Regions from separate parts of the Homo sapiens genome. Here region 2 is linked to region 1. The links are contacts of gene promoters, found by promoter capture Hi-C in human tissues and cell types (Jung and others, 2019). All regions are on one chromosome and are shown on one strand. The core of a region is centred on a gene start or on the middle of the fragment in contact, and the rest is flanking DNA. Distances in the headings are between cores, read along the strand shown. Region 1 holds the start of KLHDC4 (kelch domain containing 4). Region 2 holds the start of ZCCHC14 (zinc finger CCHC-type containing 14).

Evidence for each region. The method cuts DNA at HindIII sites, captures the fragments that hold promoters and counts their contacts. A contact is called where the count stands out against the background at its distance.
Region 2: a contact is called between the fragment with the promoter of ZCCHC14 here and the fragment with the promoter of KLHDC4 in region 1, in 4 of the 25 tissues and cell types used here (dorsolateral prefrontal cortex, hippocampus, lymphoblastoid cells and 1 more).

Annotation. Positions count from the first base shown.
Region 1 is chr16:87,760,809-87,768,644 of GRCh38, forward strand. KLHDC4 (kelch domain containing 4) reads right to left here and starts at 5,178. Exons shown (of 12, transcript NM_017566.4): 1 at 4,984-5,178; 2 at 1,141-1,232. The coding sequence starts at 5,082. It overlaps LOC105371399 (a long non-coding RNA gene), which reads left to right and starts at 5,233. Exons shown (of 3, transcript XR_933871.3): 1 at 5,233-5,533. It overlaps LOC102724467 (a long non-coding RNA gene), which reads right to left. Exons shown (of 4, transcript NR_120309.1): 4 at 5,523-5,616. RefSeq lists enhancers at 1,564-1,633, 4,466-5,090, 5,074-5,133, 5,214-5,273. The HindIII fragment of the contact is 6,630 bases long and covers 1,947-7,836 here.
Region 2 is chr16:87,488,333-87,496,168 of GRCh38, forward strand. ZCCHC14 (zinc finger CCHC-type containing 14) reads right to left here and starts at 4,692. Exons shown (of 13, transcript NM_015144.3): 1 at 3,337-4,692. The coding sequence starts at 3,906. It overlaps ZCCHC14-DT (ZCCHC14 divergent transcript), which reads left to right and starts at 5,855. Exons shown (of 4, transcript NR_110943.1): 1 at 5,855-5,903. RefSeq lists a silencer at 4,631-4,810. The HindIII fragment of the contact is 17,996 bases long and covers 1-7,836 here.

The DNA of each region.
Region 1 (7,836 bases), core at 3,928-6,427:
GATTACCTAAGGTCAGGAGTTCACGACCAGCCAGGCCAACATGGCAAAACCCCATCTCTACTAAAAATACAAAAATTAGCTGGGTATGGTGGCTGGCGCCTGTAATCCCAGCTACTTGGAAGGCTGAGGCAGGAGAATCACTTGAACCTGGGAGGCAGAGGTTGTAGTGAGCCAAGATCATGCCACTGTACTCCAGCCTGGATGACAGAGTGAGACTCCATCTCAAAAAGAAAAAAAAAAGTACATTTACCACATGTAACTTACATTTGGCCCTGAGGGCAACATGCAAACTAAAGGGAAAAAGAAAACTAAAATCCTAATGGACATGAAGTGAAAACCAGGAAGGACACTGGCCTTTGGGAGTGGCTCCAACACCACTCACTCTGCTCAGGGGCTGATCACCGTGCTCCTCCCACCTCTGGGCAGGTGATGATAACCCTGCCTCTGAGGCCGGTGGGTGGGACTCGGGCACCAGAGCCATCACATGCGCCTCATTAATGCAAACGCAGCACAATCGTGACCCTCCACTCCCGATGGGCTGAACCCCGGCTTCCACTAGGGCCTGCAGCAGCTTTATTAAAAGGGTAAATCCTGCAAGGTTAATCTCCTACTGAGGGAAATAAACCATTTCTCATTCCAGCTCATCCCACACGTGTATGAAATCCTACAGACTCGGAACGTTTTTACGTAATTTTCAAATCCATTTAAAATGGCTTATACTCAATTTATGTTTAACAAACTTTTCACATGAGAATTTGAAAGCATTACAAACACATCAAAAGGCCACAGTGATTTTCAGCTTTCTGCCTACAGTACGCACTTTTAAAATACCTTAAGAACCAAAGAAAAGCTCACTGGGGCAAAACTTTCATCCCCACGTCACGACCAGTGGAGGAGCTTTCAAAGTTGGCACCGGAGCCCAGAGGCAGCAGCTGTGCTGTAGGCCCTGCTCCCAGGTTCCATGACAGTAAAGCTTACAGCCTCATTCCAGTTCTTCAGCAGAAAGTGACCAAGAACAGGTTTTAATAATGAAAATGTCCCAAGTGCCTGGTCATTTACGAAACCTGGTGCTATTTAAAGCAGTTTTTCAATGTATAGAAGAAAAGGAAACATACAATATGAAAAATGCTACTTGCTCACCTTGGTGAGGGTGGGGGGCACGGAAGTTCCACAGTCTGAGTCCTCTTGGCATCGAGTGTCTGGAAATGGGCTATGAGCGCTTCCAGGTCTTCCTAGGGCAAGCAAGCAGGCACACGTGAGACTTATTCCCAGGACCCGCCGCGGAGCCACAGCCCGCTCAGCTTTCCTCCAATCAGTGTGATTCGACTGGGCTCAGTCACATCTGTGAATTGCAACATACTGTGCCTGTTTGAAATGCAGAGTTTGACACATTCGAAAGTAACCAGAGCTTGACCTCAAAGGCAGTCTGCTTAAAGGGTAGATGTGTGCACCAAGTATTATCTCCACACCCTTAACGCTCCCTCTGCAAGACCTTCCACTTAGACAAGCCCGTTGTGACTTCACTGCAGACACTCTCAGCACCTCTCATAACCCAGACTCGAGCCGTCGCACCTGCCAGCCTTCCTGTCTGCAGAGCAGTGTCTGACAAGAACTTCCACTTAGACAAGCCCATCGTGACTTCACTGCAGACACCCTCAGCACCTCTCAGAGCCCAGGCCTGGGCCGTCACGCCTGCCTGCCTTCCTGTCTGCTGAGCAGTGTCTGATATATTTCTCTTGCTTATTTGTTTCCTCCACCCCAACAAAATAATAAAATATGAGCTCCACCAGAGCAAGACTTGTGTCTAGTTAAAACACTGCCTGCACAGCAAGAGCTCAGCAAATACCAGCTGCAGTCTATCCAAGTAAGAAGGTCTCAACTTTTACTACCATCGAGAGTGACTCAAGGTACTGATGTGCCAGCACAGAGGGCAGCACTGGAACCCAGTGTTCCCGCCTCAGTCCCAGTGCCCATTTCCCAACATTTACGAGACACTCCCATGCACACCCGAGCCTGGCATTTCAAGTTCCTTCTAGCCTTCAGTGTCCTGCTTGCAACTACACACACCTGCAGACCATCTTCCCTCCCCCACACCCACCTCTCCAACCTCACCTCCCACCTGGCCTCACTCTCCAAGATACACCAGCGTCCTCTCCGTTCCTTCAATGAAAACGCCAGGTTCCCTCAGCCTGCCACGCCCCACCTCGTGCTTCCTTCAGTCTACCTCTCATCTCAGGGTGAATGTCAGCAGGGTACACTGCTTAGTATTCTAAACGATGCAATATTTAAAACACACAAGTTAACAGAACTTTATCCAAGACATTCCTGTATACGGTTCCCAGGGTAAGGAATAAAGTGTCACCCACATGTACCCACCCACACATTCCCTCAAGTAACCACTATCTGGAACTCGATGCTTATTAGTCTCACGCTTTTCTTCAATCTTTTATTACACATGTGTATCCCTAAGCAACATATAGTATTGTTTTACATTTTTAAATGTCATTAAATGGACTGGGCACAGTGGCTCACGCCTGTAATCCCCGAACTTTGGGAGGCCGAGGCAGGTGGATAATTTGAGGTCAGGAGTTCGAGACCAGCCTGACCAACACGGTGAAACCCCGTCTCTACTAAAAAATACAAAAATTAGCCGGCCACAGTGGCGCACACCTGTAGTCCCAAACTACTCGGGAGGCTGAGGCAGGAGAATTGCTTGAGCCTGGGAGGCAGAGGTTGCAATGAGCTGAGATCATGCCACTGCGACACTTGCTCTGGGTGACAGAGCAGGACTCCATCTCAAAAAAAATAAAAAATAAAATGTCATTAAATGGTATCATACTGTATATTCTTTCAACTTGCTTTTTTTGCTCAACGAGGTTAAACAAACAGTTCAAATACTAACGTCTATGTACCGCGAAAGCTTTGCTGCTGCTACTTAGAGCGGTCTTTGACCTTGGCTGAACCTCATCATCATTGGGTGACTGAAGGAGAGCAAGGTGGTAGGGTCTGGGTGACGCCAGTGGCCTAGCCAGTGACAGCCTCTCCAAAGTGACAATAAGCTGAATGCTGAAAAGACGACTCAGACGGAGTATGGTTGGGGTATAGGTAAGACCACAGACACAACTTGCCATGTTTGAGACACTAAAAGACACTGTGGCTGGAGTGAGCCCAGGGAGACAGCTGGAAAGACAGGCAGAGGCCAGGACTAAGTGAAGGTGCGAACCAGGTGACCTGATACATGAGTTCTGTGGGAGCAGAATTCCAAACTGTCCCCAATCCTTCCCCCAATAATTGCCAGGACTGTGAAAGAATGGGATACCACTCTTGTGATTAGGTTGTATTACAGACACAGCTGAATTTAAGAAAGAGATGATCCTCTGTGGGTCTAGCCTAATCAGACGCCCACTTATTTTAAAAGTTTGTTTTGAGGGTTCATTCAGATAACATACAAACCCCAGGCCTGACAGGCTCTCTCTCTTAAGGGAAGCTACTGTTACAATCACCTTAGTATTGGGTACTGGAGGGAGACATGGAGATGAGTAAAAATGACAGGTAACTGGCGGGGCAAGGTGGCTTACGGCTTGTAATCCCAGCACTTTGGGAGGCCGAGGCGAGCGCATCACCTGAGGTCAGGAGTCCCAGACCAGCCTGACCAAAACGGTGAAACCCGGTCTCTATTAAAAATACAAAATTAGCTGGGTGTGGTGGTGCATGCCTGTAATCTCAGCTACTTGGGAGGCTGAGGCAGGAGAACCACTTGAACCTGGGAGGCGGAGGTGCAGTGAGCTGAGATCGCACCATTGCACTCCACCCTGGGCAACAAGAGTGAAACTCCTTCAAAAAAAAAAAAAAAAAAAAAAAAAAAAAGCAGAAAGCAGCTAACAGCTGGTTACTGAGTGCTTACTTTCTGCCAAGCACCATTCTGAAGATACCACACAGATGAACTGACTTCCTGTGCCACAACCCTAGCCAGCAGGTCATGCCACTGCAGCCCAGCCTAGGTGACAGAGCAAGACTCTGTCAAAAAAAAAAAAAAAAAAAAGAAAGAGCCTAAGAGGAGTGTGAGGGAAAAGTCCAACTCCATTATTTAAGAGATGAGGACATGGAGAGATCAATGACTTAGGAAGAAAAGGGACAAAGGACTGTGGTCAAGAGCTCCTGATTCAGGACATCTGGTCACATCCCAGTTCCATACCACTTCATGGTTCACCTGTTGGTCTTCCTGTCAAATGGGAATACCAGTGCTACGGAACTGACCTGCTCGTGAGGAGTAAAGCCCAGGGAGCTGTGCCTGGCGCACGGCAGGCCATAAAACTGGCCCCGGTTAGGGAATCCATGAGCAGCAGCCGCAGAACACTCAACCCCAAGGTCAGGACGGATCCTCCTGCAGACCCCGGGCTGAGGACCAGAGGGAAGGAGACAACCGTGATGGCCGCCATCAGCTGCTACGGGATACCCCGTGGCTCCAGTGCCTTCTTCACTTAACCATCTGCTGCTCACTGCTCAGGGCTGCTGTGATGATTATTTGCCCTCTTTTGAAAGAAAAGTAAGGTTCAGAAAAGTTAAGAGTCTTACTCCCAGACCACACATCATGCAGAGGCAGCCCCCGGCTCAACCTCAGGTCTTCCTGTGCCAAACCCCTCCCTCTTCTCACCACCCAGCCTCCCTTCAGAGGGAGGGTGGAGGGAGAAGGGAGGAGGGGGAGGAAACGCAGAAAAACGCCCGTGACACCACACTAAGAAAAGCAAGCACGTTAAAGGGGGCAGCTCCGAGAAGCGGACAGACACACGTGGAGACTCAGGAGGGGGCGGGCCCCGTCTGGGCTGCCCGGACGCGGCGCCGGGGCAGTTCCTACGGCCTCCAGCTCTCCCGCAGGGCCGGCGCGGCTCCCACGGCCGACCCGTAACCCCGGGGGGCGCAGGGAGTCGGCCGAGGCTGCACGGCCGCGACGTCGGGCCGCTAAGCCCGGTCTGACCCGCTCACCTCCTCCTTCCGCGAGCGCTTAGACACCTTCTTCTCCATCTTGGCGGCCGTCTTCTCCGCGCCGCGGCCCTTCTTCTCCTTCTTGCCCTTCTTGCCCATCTTGCCGGGTCCCAAGCCGCGACGGGACACCAGGAAAGAAAACGGCCCGCGCTCTCCGCTCGGAAACAGGTGCTCGTGGGGCGGAGCTCGGCGCACAGAAATGGAGTCACTTCCGGCCCCGAGTTCGAGCCGCTTCCGGGTAGAGGTGCGGCTGGGCCCTTTACGAGGTTCGGTCTTGGAGCTCCGTCTTCGGCAGCGGGCTCGGGGGCCTCGGACTCTGCATAAGGCCCCGGAAAAGATGACCGGCCCCGGGCTGGGCGCGGTGGCTCATGCCTGTAACCCTGGAGCTTTGGGAGGCCTTGGCGGGCGGATCGCTTGAGTCCAGGAGTTCGAGATCAGCCTGGGCAACAAAGCGAGACACCACCCCCCACCCCCAGTCGCTACAGAAGAAAAAAAAAAAAATTAACCGGGCGTGGTGTCTCGCGCCCAGTGGTCCTAGCTCCTCGGGAAGGTGAGGCGGGAAGATCGCTTGAGTCAAGGAGTTCCAGGCAGCAATGCGCCCCTGCACCCCAACCTGGGCGACAGAGCGAGATCCTGTTTCAAAAAACAAAAAAGATGGCAGCCCCGGCCTGACATACCCCGGCCATGCTCGCCAATTCTCACGCCCTGTGCCCCCACCTAGCCTGTCCCCGTGTCCTAGGAGACGTGCCCTCTGAGTTTTATTTTTTATTTCTATTTTTTTGAGGCAGGGTCTTGCTCTGTCGCCCAGGCTGGAGTGCGGTAGCGCGATCTCGGCTCGCTGTAACCTCCGCCTCTGGAGTAGCTGGGACCACAGGAGCCCACCACGCCCGGCTCATTTTCTCTTGAGTTTTCCGGGGTGCACGTGCCCCCCGTTAAGGCACATTGCTTCGCCCTGGGTAGAACTAAGTGGGCGACTCTTGGGCTAGCCCCATTTTTTCCCCTCAGACCAAACAAATGAGTGCTTTTTTCCCAGAAAAAAAATTTCACACAGTTATAAGATTTTGCAGATCCTGAGTAAGACAGTCCCTGCCGGGCGCGGTGGCTCACGCCTGTAATCCCAGCACTTTGGGAGGCCGAGGTGAGTGGATCACGAGGTCAGGAGTTCGAGACCAGCCTAGCCAACATGGTGAAACCCCCGTCTCTACTAAAACTACAAAAATTAGCCAGGCGTGGTGGTGGGCACCTGTAATCCCAGCTACTTGGGAGGCTGAGGCAGGAGAATTGCTTGAACCCAGGGGGCAGAGGTTGCAATGAGCTGAGATCAAGCCACTTCACTCCAGCTTGGGCAAAAGAGCAAAATTCCATCTTAAAAAAAAAAAAAAATGGGGGGGCCCTTCCACCTTCCCATTTAAAATGTGCCAGACACTGTTAGGTACTAAGGGCATGTCCTCAAATGTCCTAACATGGAGGACTTTTGTTTCTTCATAGGTAGGCTAGAGCTAATGATAGCACCCTGAAAGGGTACTCAATTTGTGGAGCCTGAGAAATAAAGATAGGTAATATCCAAATGCCTGCTAGGAAATTGTACTCTAGGATTTGCCTCAAATTACGTAAGAAATGGCAAAATCATCTGCAGTGCATGGAATGTTATGATTTGAAAGAGCAGAGTAAAAATGCTTATCACTACTTAGAAGATGTCATCTTTGGATGGGTAATCAAGGAATAAGGCAAATTAAGGACAAGGACAAGCCAAAATTTGGCAAAGGGAAAGCATAAATCAGGAAATAATCTAGTTTATTACTTTGTGTGTGAGTCAGCCTTTAAAAGTTCTCTTAGGCCAGGCGTGGTGGTTCATTCCTGTAATCCCAGCACTTTGGGAGGCTGAAGCGGGCTGATCACGAGGTCAGGAGTTCAAGACCAGCCTGGCCAATATGGTGAAACCCTGTCTCCACTAAAAATACAAAAAAAAAAAAAAAAATTAGCCAGGTGTGGTGGCACCCACCTGTAGTCCCAACTATTCAGGAGGCTGAGGCAAAAGAATCATTTGAACCTAGGCGGCAGAGGTTGCAGTGAGCGGAGATTGCACCACTGCACTCCAGCCTGGGCGACAAAGCAAGACTCCATCTCAAAAAAAAAAAAAAAAAAAGATGTTATCTTAGATCCAGCCAGGTGTGATGGCTCACGCCTGTAATCCTAGCACTTTGAGAGGCAGAGGCAGGCAGATCACCTGAGGTCAGGAGTTTGAGACCAGCCTGATCAACATGGTGAAACCCCATCTCCACTAAAAATACAAAATTAGACAGGCATGGTGGTGCGCACCTGTAATCCCAGCTACTCGGGAGGCTGAGTCAGGAGAATGGCTTGAGCCTGGGAGACAGAGGTTGCAGTGAGCCGAGACTGAACCACTGCACTCCAGCCTGGGCAACAGAGCTAGACTCCGTCTCAAAAAAAAAAAAAAAAAGAAGAAGTTAACTCGGCCAGGCGTAGTGGCTCACATCTGTAATCCCAGCACTTTGGGAGGCCAAGGTGGGCAGATCACGAGGTCAGGAGTTCAAAACCAGCCTGGCCAACATGGTGAAACCCCGTCTCTACAAAAATACAAAAAAATTAGCCAGGTGTGGTGGTGTGCACCTTTAATCCCAGCTACTCAGGAGGCTGAGGTAGGAGAATTGCTTGAACCGGGAGGAAAGGTTGCGGTGAGCCCAGATCACGCCATTGCACTCCAGCCTGGGCAGCAAAAGCGAAACTCTGTCTCAAAAACAAAAAAAGTTACCTTAGATCCAATCAATGACTAGTCACTGAGCAGCTGAGGAGGAATGATTTTCCAACCCACTCCAAGCCTTATCCATAAAC
Region 2 (7,836 bases), core at 3,442-5,941, 270 kb before region 1:
CAGGAGCAGCAAGCAGCAGCATTACCGGCCACTAGGCAGAGTACAACTAATTCAGCCTACCATCAGTGTGGCTACTGGAAGTATTTTTCTTTCTGAAAGTAAAATACAGGTATGTCTACTTTGTACTCCCCCCACTTTTACACCTCTAGAAGTCCTCAGAATAATAAGAATTTTTAAATAAAAACACAGGATTTGGACAAGGAATTGCAAATAATGACTATTTCGGAAAATACAGTTAAAATAAATTTAAAAAAAATTTTTTGAGACACAGTCTCACTCTGTCACCCAGGCTGGAATGCAGTGGCATGATCATACCTCACCTACAGCCTCTACCTCCTGGGATCAGGTAATCATCCCACCTCGGCCTCCCAAGTAGCAGGGACTACAAGTGTGTGCCACCACTCCTGGCTAATTTTTGTATTTTTTGTAGAGACAGGGTTTTGCTGTGTTGCCCAGGCTGGTGTTGAACTCCTGGGCTCAAGCGATCTGCCCACCTTGACCTCCCAAACTTCCGGGACTACAGGCGTAAGCCACCTTGCCAGGCCAAGAAATAAAAATTCAAATTGGATAAAGAATTTAAAAAGCCATTGACATTTGTATCTCTAAAAGAAAAATACAAAGTCTCTAAGCTCAAAGAGTTCAAAATAAAATACAACAGCTTACAAAAGAATGCAGACAGCTTTAACGGGGCTGCTTTTTCAGGAATACACCAAACGTTAGATTTAGAAACTAAGAAAGCAAAATACTTAAATGCTAGATTTCATCTGAGTTGCATGCTCCAAGCAATAAAGGGTTCATCAACGTCAGCCTTAGCTTTGAAGCAGCAACAGAAACGAAAGTTAAATGAATGGGGCTGAAATTAGCTTAGCAGTGACACTAGGGATGTAGGGAAAACTAGAAACCACGGTTGTTTTGAAATACGGAAATGACAGCCCAAGGTTACTCCTTATAATAATCCTCTCATTAAGGGTCACAGAATCTTCCAGTTTTCCAAAGATGAAACAAAAAAATTGTCAGCTCCAAGTAACTACTCAAAAACCAATTTAGAACACATAAACGCTCATAGCCAAGATGTAAATAATTCAATCTATAAAACATGCCTTGCTTTAAGTTAGCAAACCTCTATAAAAAGGAATGTTAAAAGCCGGAGAGGCCATAGAGGAGAAAGCAGCATTTACTGCACCTCTGCTGGAAGCTCATGTATGTTACCTATGTAATCCTCAACACAAGCCTGTGAGGTAGGTTACATCCCCTCCACTGCAACAGGGACAACACTGAGGGGCAGAAGGATCCTGGCCAAGGTTGCACGGCTGGTAAATTCAGCGCCCATGGCCTTGGGACTGGGGTGTAGCGGGGGAGGTGCAGGGGTGAGCAGAGAGGAATAGATTAGCCCCTTCATCTCATCAAAGGGATTTCTGCTTCACAGAAAGGCTCTCCTATAAAAGACATTTTTGTTCTAGATTTAGCTCACTGCCCAATCAAAATAATAATCACCACTGTCTGCATAAAGTGAGGCACCCGTGCTCACACATTAAGAATCCCCTTAAAGAGATGACGTTACTGTAGCAACAGCCATAGAAATTATTAGTGGGTGGAATCTACACAAAGGAGTAACAGCACATGAAACTGACCATAAATGACTGAGATTCCATGAATAGGTGACAATTTGCTGGCATGTCAAGGCTTACATGGATTACTATAAACAACTACATTTCCTAGGACCCTCTGCACAGCACACAGCCTGAAATACAGGGTGGGAGCCGAACTTAAAAAGAAAACTATAGTCTTGGAGGTAAATGTCACACACACAAAAATCAATTTAAAAAAACCGATGTATGTACTACAACCACTTCTTACAGGAAGACATTAAAAAAGAAAAGCCACAATCTACGATTGAAAGACAGCTTTAAAAACACACACATAAAAAACCTAGCAAACCAGACGGTGTTCTCAGCCACTCATAAAAGCAAAGTCTTATCAAAGTTTTAACTTCAAAGAGCTTAAAGACACTGCAAAGAGACACTGAGCAAGACTTGGTCCCGACTGCAACCTATTCCCTTCCAAAAAATAATCAGTTTGTAATCTAAATACACATCACACCAGGTCAAAGTAATCTCTTCCGGCAGCAAAATTTTGGCACTGGATTGCAGGGGGCTGTTCAAAATAGCTGGAGCCCCAGACACTTTGCGTTTTCAGTTCTGAAACACTTAGACAAAAGTTCACATCGCTAAGTGGATGGCCAGGACGCCCTTCCGGTTCAATTTGGAGACCGGAGATCTTTAACCTAACCTAACATTCCTTAAGGCATCGGTGCCCTCCCACTCAAAGTCAGCCTGGGTTTTGTTTCTAAGGGTCGCCAATAAATAGGTTTCACGGGCATTTAAGGCTCTGGGAGTCTTTTTCTGTCTGTTACAGGTAGCCCGGCTCTTAAAAACGATCACACACAACGTTCACAAGCATGTGCACATTCATACACACGTGTGCACATATACATGCCCACATGCGACACACGCGTACATCATACAGCATGCACGTGTCCATAAATGAGCTCACACGGACAGCCATGTCCCGCGCCCAGGCCCCCAGCGACACAGGCCCCAAGCAGGGCCTCCACCTGTGTGGAGGGAGCGGCTCAGACGGGGAAGCCCCAGCGCCTTGCAATGTTCACCTCACCGGCGGCTTCTGGCGTGGCCACGGCTCCTTCCTTTTCTGGTAATAAATACCAGATTTGGGGAAACCAAGGCGCCGCAATGTGTGTTATCTGTCACCCAAGGGCCCCATTAAGGGGACAAAGGCCTTATCGCGTTTGCAGCCGGCTAAGTGAAAGGAGGGCACCTGGGACTGTGAGCTCTGACCGCGGACGTCTCCCGCACCGCTCCCGCGGATCCTCGGACCCAGGGCCCCTGCAGCCGCTCCTGCCCAAGGGGCGCGAGGCGGAGGTGTGGAGGCTTTGGGGCACGCAGAGGGGACTGAGGGTGTGGGCTCAGGGCCGCGGTGCGGTCTTGGGGCTTAAAGTGCAGACTTAGGGTGAGGAGTGCGGGCTTAGGATGGGGGCTTGGGATGTACGGCGGAGGCTTGGGATGTACGGCGGAGGCTTGGGATGTACGGTGGAGGCTTGGAGAGGTGGGGCACACATTTGGGGTGCGACATAGAGGCTTAGGATGGGGCTTGGGATACGGGCTGGGGGCTCGTGGTGCAGGTTGGAGACCTGGGTGGGAGCTCTCAGTGCAGGCTGGAGGCGTGGGTCGGGGGGTCGCGGTGCAGGCTGGAGGCTTGGAGTGCAGAGTTGGGGATGCAGACTTGGGGTACAGGGCAGAGCTCGGGGCGGGCACGCACCTTGTGGCAGGCTGGGCAAGTGGGCAGCGCGCCGCCCGGCCCGGGCGCGCCCTTGCCGCCGTGGCCCCCGCCGCCGTTCAGGCTGCTCTGGATCTGCGTGAGCTCCTGGCGCAGCACCTGCTTCTGGTGGAAGCTGAAGGCCGGGTGGTTGGAGGCCATGGTGAACAGCAGCAGGAACTCATCGCCCGTGCGGCCCTCGTTAAGCTGCAGCCCGTAGTTGTGGATGATGGAGTCGATGTGCGTGAGCGTGCGGTAGAGCACGCCCGCCGCCTCGCGCTGCTCCGAGCCCAGCAGCGCCAGCGACACCAGCAGCTTGCTGCGCACCACCTCGTCCGTCAGGTTGGTGAGGCTGCCCAGGTCGGCCGGGTTGTTGGCCTTGATCTCCGAGTCGCGCAGCGAGTGGTAGTCCTTGCGGGCCAGGTCCTCCAGGCACGAGCCGAGGAAGCGAAGCTCGAGCGGGATGCACAGGTCCAGCAGGCCGCACAGGAACTCCACGCGCTGCGGCGACGGCAGCTCCGAGAACCAGCGGTACACGCCGTCCCTCTGCAGCGGGCAGCGCTTCTCCACCATGCTGCCGCCCGCGCCGCGCCGCGACCCGGGGCCGGGGACCGCGCGGGGGCGGCCGGGGGGCGCCGGGGGCCGCGGCCGGGGCGCGCCGGGACCGGGGACGCGCGGGCCGGGGCCGGGTCCGGGCGAGGGCGCGCGGGCGCCGCGGGCCGGGCGGGCGCCGGGGCGGGGGCGGGGACCGGGGCCGGGCAAGGCTCCCGTCAGGGGCCGGCGGGCGGGCGCGCGCGGGGCGCCGGGGGGGCCCGGGGCGGCCGGGGCGGCCGGGGGCGGCGAGCGGCCTCGGGCCCCCCGCTCACGGGGAGGCGCCTTCCCCGCGCCCGTGCCCAGCGGCGGCCGGTGCGCGGCGGCGGCGGCGGCTGCTCCTCGTCGTCGTCGTCGTCGTCGCCCGGGAGGCGGCCGCCCCCATCTCCCCCCGCGCCGCAGGGTCTGTCACTGCGGGCCGCCCCCCGACGGAGCCGCCCCGGCCATGCCGTCGCCGCCGCCCGCGCCTCCGCCCAGGCCGGCCGTTACCCCGGGCCGCGGGCGCGGCGTCGCCGCCTGGGGAGCGCTGGGGGCCGCGGCCGCGAAACGGACGCTGGAGGGGGAGGGACGCGCGGCGGGAGGCGCGGAGGGATCCGGCCGGGACTTGCCGGCCTTGCTGCTCCCGCGCGGCGGACGGATCCGGGCCCGAGCGCGGCGGCGGCGGCGACGGCGACGGCGACGGCGACGGCGACGGCGGAGGAGGCGCCGGCCGAGGAGCGGAGGGATCGTCGCGCTCGCGGCTGACGGGCGGCCGGGATCAGCAGAAGTGGGCGGGGTGGCCGCCTCTCGCGACAGCCCGGGCCTGCCGGGCCCGTCCCCCCCCCACTGATTGGCTCAGGCGGCCCGTTCTCGGCCCGTGATTGTGCCGGGTCCCCAATCCCATTCGCCCGTTCCGCGGCCACGCCTCCCTGGGGGCTGTCGATCATGTTGGGGCCACCGCCTCCCGTCCCTCGGCGGCCGTCAAGACGCGATTGGTCCGCGGAATCGGAGAGGCGGAAAACCCGGGCTGGATTTCTGGTTGCTTTTGTTCCCGCAAATTTGCGTGGAGCATTGTTTTTCGGCGAAAACGGGGCGTTCGGCCTTCCTGCTTTATTTTTGAGCGGTGTAAGAGGGAGGTAGTGGGTATCTTCGAGAAACGGCCGCCGCGGGGTCCGGAGCCCCGGGTTCCAATCCCGGGTCGGCCACTGCAAAGCTGTGTGACCTTGGGCGAGTCACTTGGCCTCTCTGAGCCCCAGGCGCCTCCCCGGGAAAAAGAGGGTAATAATAACCGCCCCCGAGGTTTGTGCGAAGGTGTTGAGCTCACAGAGGGCCGGCACCGGCACTTTTGAGGCGGCTGACTTGCCCTGGGGGTGTGATGGGAGGTGCAAGCTTTCTCCAAAAGCCTCGTCCAAATGGAGCCTTTAAATCCGCCTTCTTTCCGCGGCTACTTCACCAGCTCGCCAAACGCAGAAAATGCAAACACAGGGGAGGGGGCAAGGGAGCTGACCTGGCTGGAAGTAAACAGAAACGCCACCCTCCCCTGGCACTTGCATTGGCACCGGATTGCAGGTGGGGGAAGGGCCGGTGCACCCAACCACCTTTAAATCCCACCACTTACACACAGGCATAGAAGTAGAGCCGCGGGGGCTGGACGCTCATTCCTCCCCTGCCCTTCCCCTAGAGCGCTGCTTTGAATGTCTGTTGATCTAGAACGGGGTCTGTTCATTCATGGGTTCCAGGTCCCAAGCGCCCGGGGGCAGCTGAGAGCAAAGCTGGCGCCCTCCCTACCCTGTGGAGCTTACACTCTGGTTCTGGGCAGTGCACACTAGAGATTGGTTAAATCAATGAATGAACTTTTTCAGGATATGGTCCAAGGTGCTGAAAACTTCCTAACAAAACTCTTCAGCCGAATCTGGCACGCCTGTGGTTCCAGCTACTGGGTAGACCGAGGCAGGAGGATCGCTTGAGGCCAAGAGTTTAAGACCAACCTGGGCAACATGGTGAGACCCCCCCTCCCCGCCCCAGTCGCTCCAAAACAAACAAACCCCACATTCTCCAGTCTTAGGTCTTCGAGGATGAACAGAGATTGCAGAAAGGCATGGTTGGGAACAAAAAAAATTGCTCTCCACTCCCCCAGCCCCCTCCACACCTTGGGCACATTTCCCTGGAGCTGCCCCAGTGTTCTTTGTCAGTGTAGGAAGAAGCAAAAATCTAAATGGAGTCAGGATGGCCTCCCACATGGGCACAAGGGCAAGGCTGGGGACAGTTGGGTCTCCTCATCTTATTTCCCAGGTCTAGGCTGATTTCTATTAATAATTAAATTAATCGTCGTTGTCCTGGACCTCACTTCTTAATGTGATTCCAGGGAACTGGCCACATTCCAAAATTCATAATCTAAGGTAGTGAAAGAACGTGAACATCAAGACAGTTTGGCTGGGCTCAGAGGCTCACATCTGTAATCCCAGTACTTTGGGAGGCCGAGGGTAGATCCCTTGAGCCCAGGAGTTCGAGACCAGCCTGGGCAACATGGCGAAATCCCATCTCTACAAAAACTACAAAAATTAGCCAGATGTGGTGGCATGTGCCTGTAGTCCCAGGTACTTGGGAGACTGCAGTGGAAGGATTGCCCGAGCCCGGGAAAGGGAGGTTGCGGTGAATGGGGATCCCGCCACTGCACTCCAGCCTGGGTGACAGCGTAAGACTCTGTCTCAAAAACAAAACAAAACAAAAGATTCATTTCTTATTGATAAAGCAAGCTCCTTGGAGAAAGATCTTGGAACCTCATTAGTGCTGGGGGTGGGGGTGGGGCTTCTTCAATCCAGCCGAGCTGGCTGTGAAACCCCCAGGCTTTGGTACCAAGTGAGCTCCAGTCCCAGCTGTGGCTGACTGTGTGAACTTGGCTATGCATTCAGAGGCCTCTGAGCCTCAGTTTCCTCATCTGTAGAAGACAGCCAGGAACCCGTCATCCTGGCTAGCAGTGGAAGTCAAAGGTGCTCATGGAAAGCCCTTGCTGGCTGGAACAAGGGAGGCCTGAGCTGTGGAAGTCCTTGGATCAAGGTCCTCCCCACTTCCCGCTGCCTTTTTGGTCCTTCTTGCGTGCTCTTTGTGATTTAATGGCTTAGTAGGTTGAATCATGTCCCCCCAAAGTTTATCTCTACCCCAAATCTCAGAATGTGACCTTATTTGGGAAAAGAGTCTTTGCAGATATAATTAAGGTAAGAGTCAAGATAAAATCACACTGAATTAAGGTGAGCCCTACATGCAATGAGACTGTCCTTACAAGATACAGAAAAGAACACATAGAGACTTCGGGGGAAAGGAGACTATGTGCAAGAATGGCAGAGATTGGAGCCAAGGAGTGCCTGGGCCTACCAGAGGCTGCAAGAGACAGGGAGGACCCTCCCCTAGAGCCTCCAGAGGGAACAGAGCCATGCCCACACCTTGACTTTGGACTCCTGGCCTCCAGAACTGTGAGAGGGTAAGTTGCTATTGTTTTCAACCCCCAACCCCCACCCTCCCCCACCCCCCGACCCTCTCCCACCCCCATCTCCCACCCCTCCCCCATCCCCATCTCCCACCCCCCCCCCACCCCTCCCCTACCCCCATCTCCCCACCCCTCCCTCACTCACGCGTGTTGTGGTTACTTGTAGGGCAGCCAGGGAAACCGAAACAATGTCATATCCCCCCAGACATCGGTGTGGCTCAGCTCAATCCAGTTCACAACAAATATGAAATCCCTGCCCTACAGGACCAGGCCTCAGGAAGGGCTTGGGGGCCTCAGAGGCAAATGAGACCAGGTCCATCGACCCTACAGAACTGACAACCTGGACTCCCCACTCTGAAGCAGGCAGGCTGCCTGAAGGAGGGGGCCTCCCTCATAAGGAGAGGGCAGACGCTGACCTCCCGGGCCCTCCAGCATTCTCTGGGTCCTGG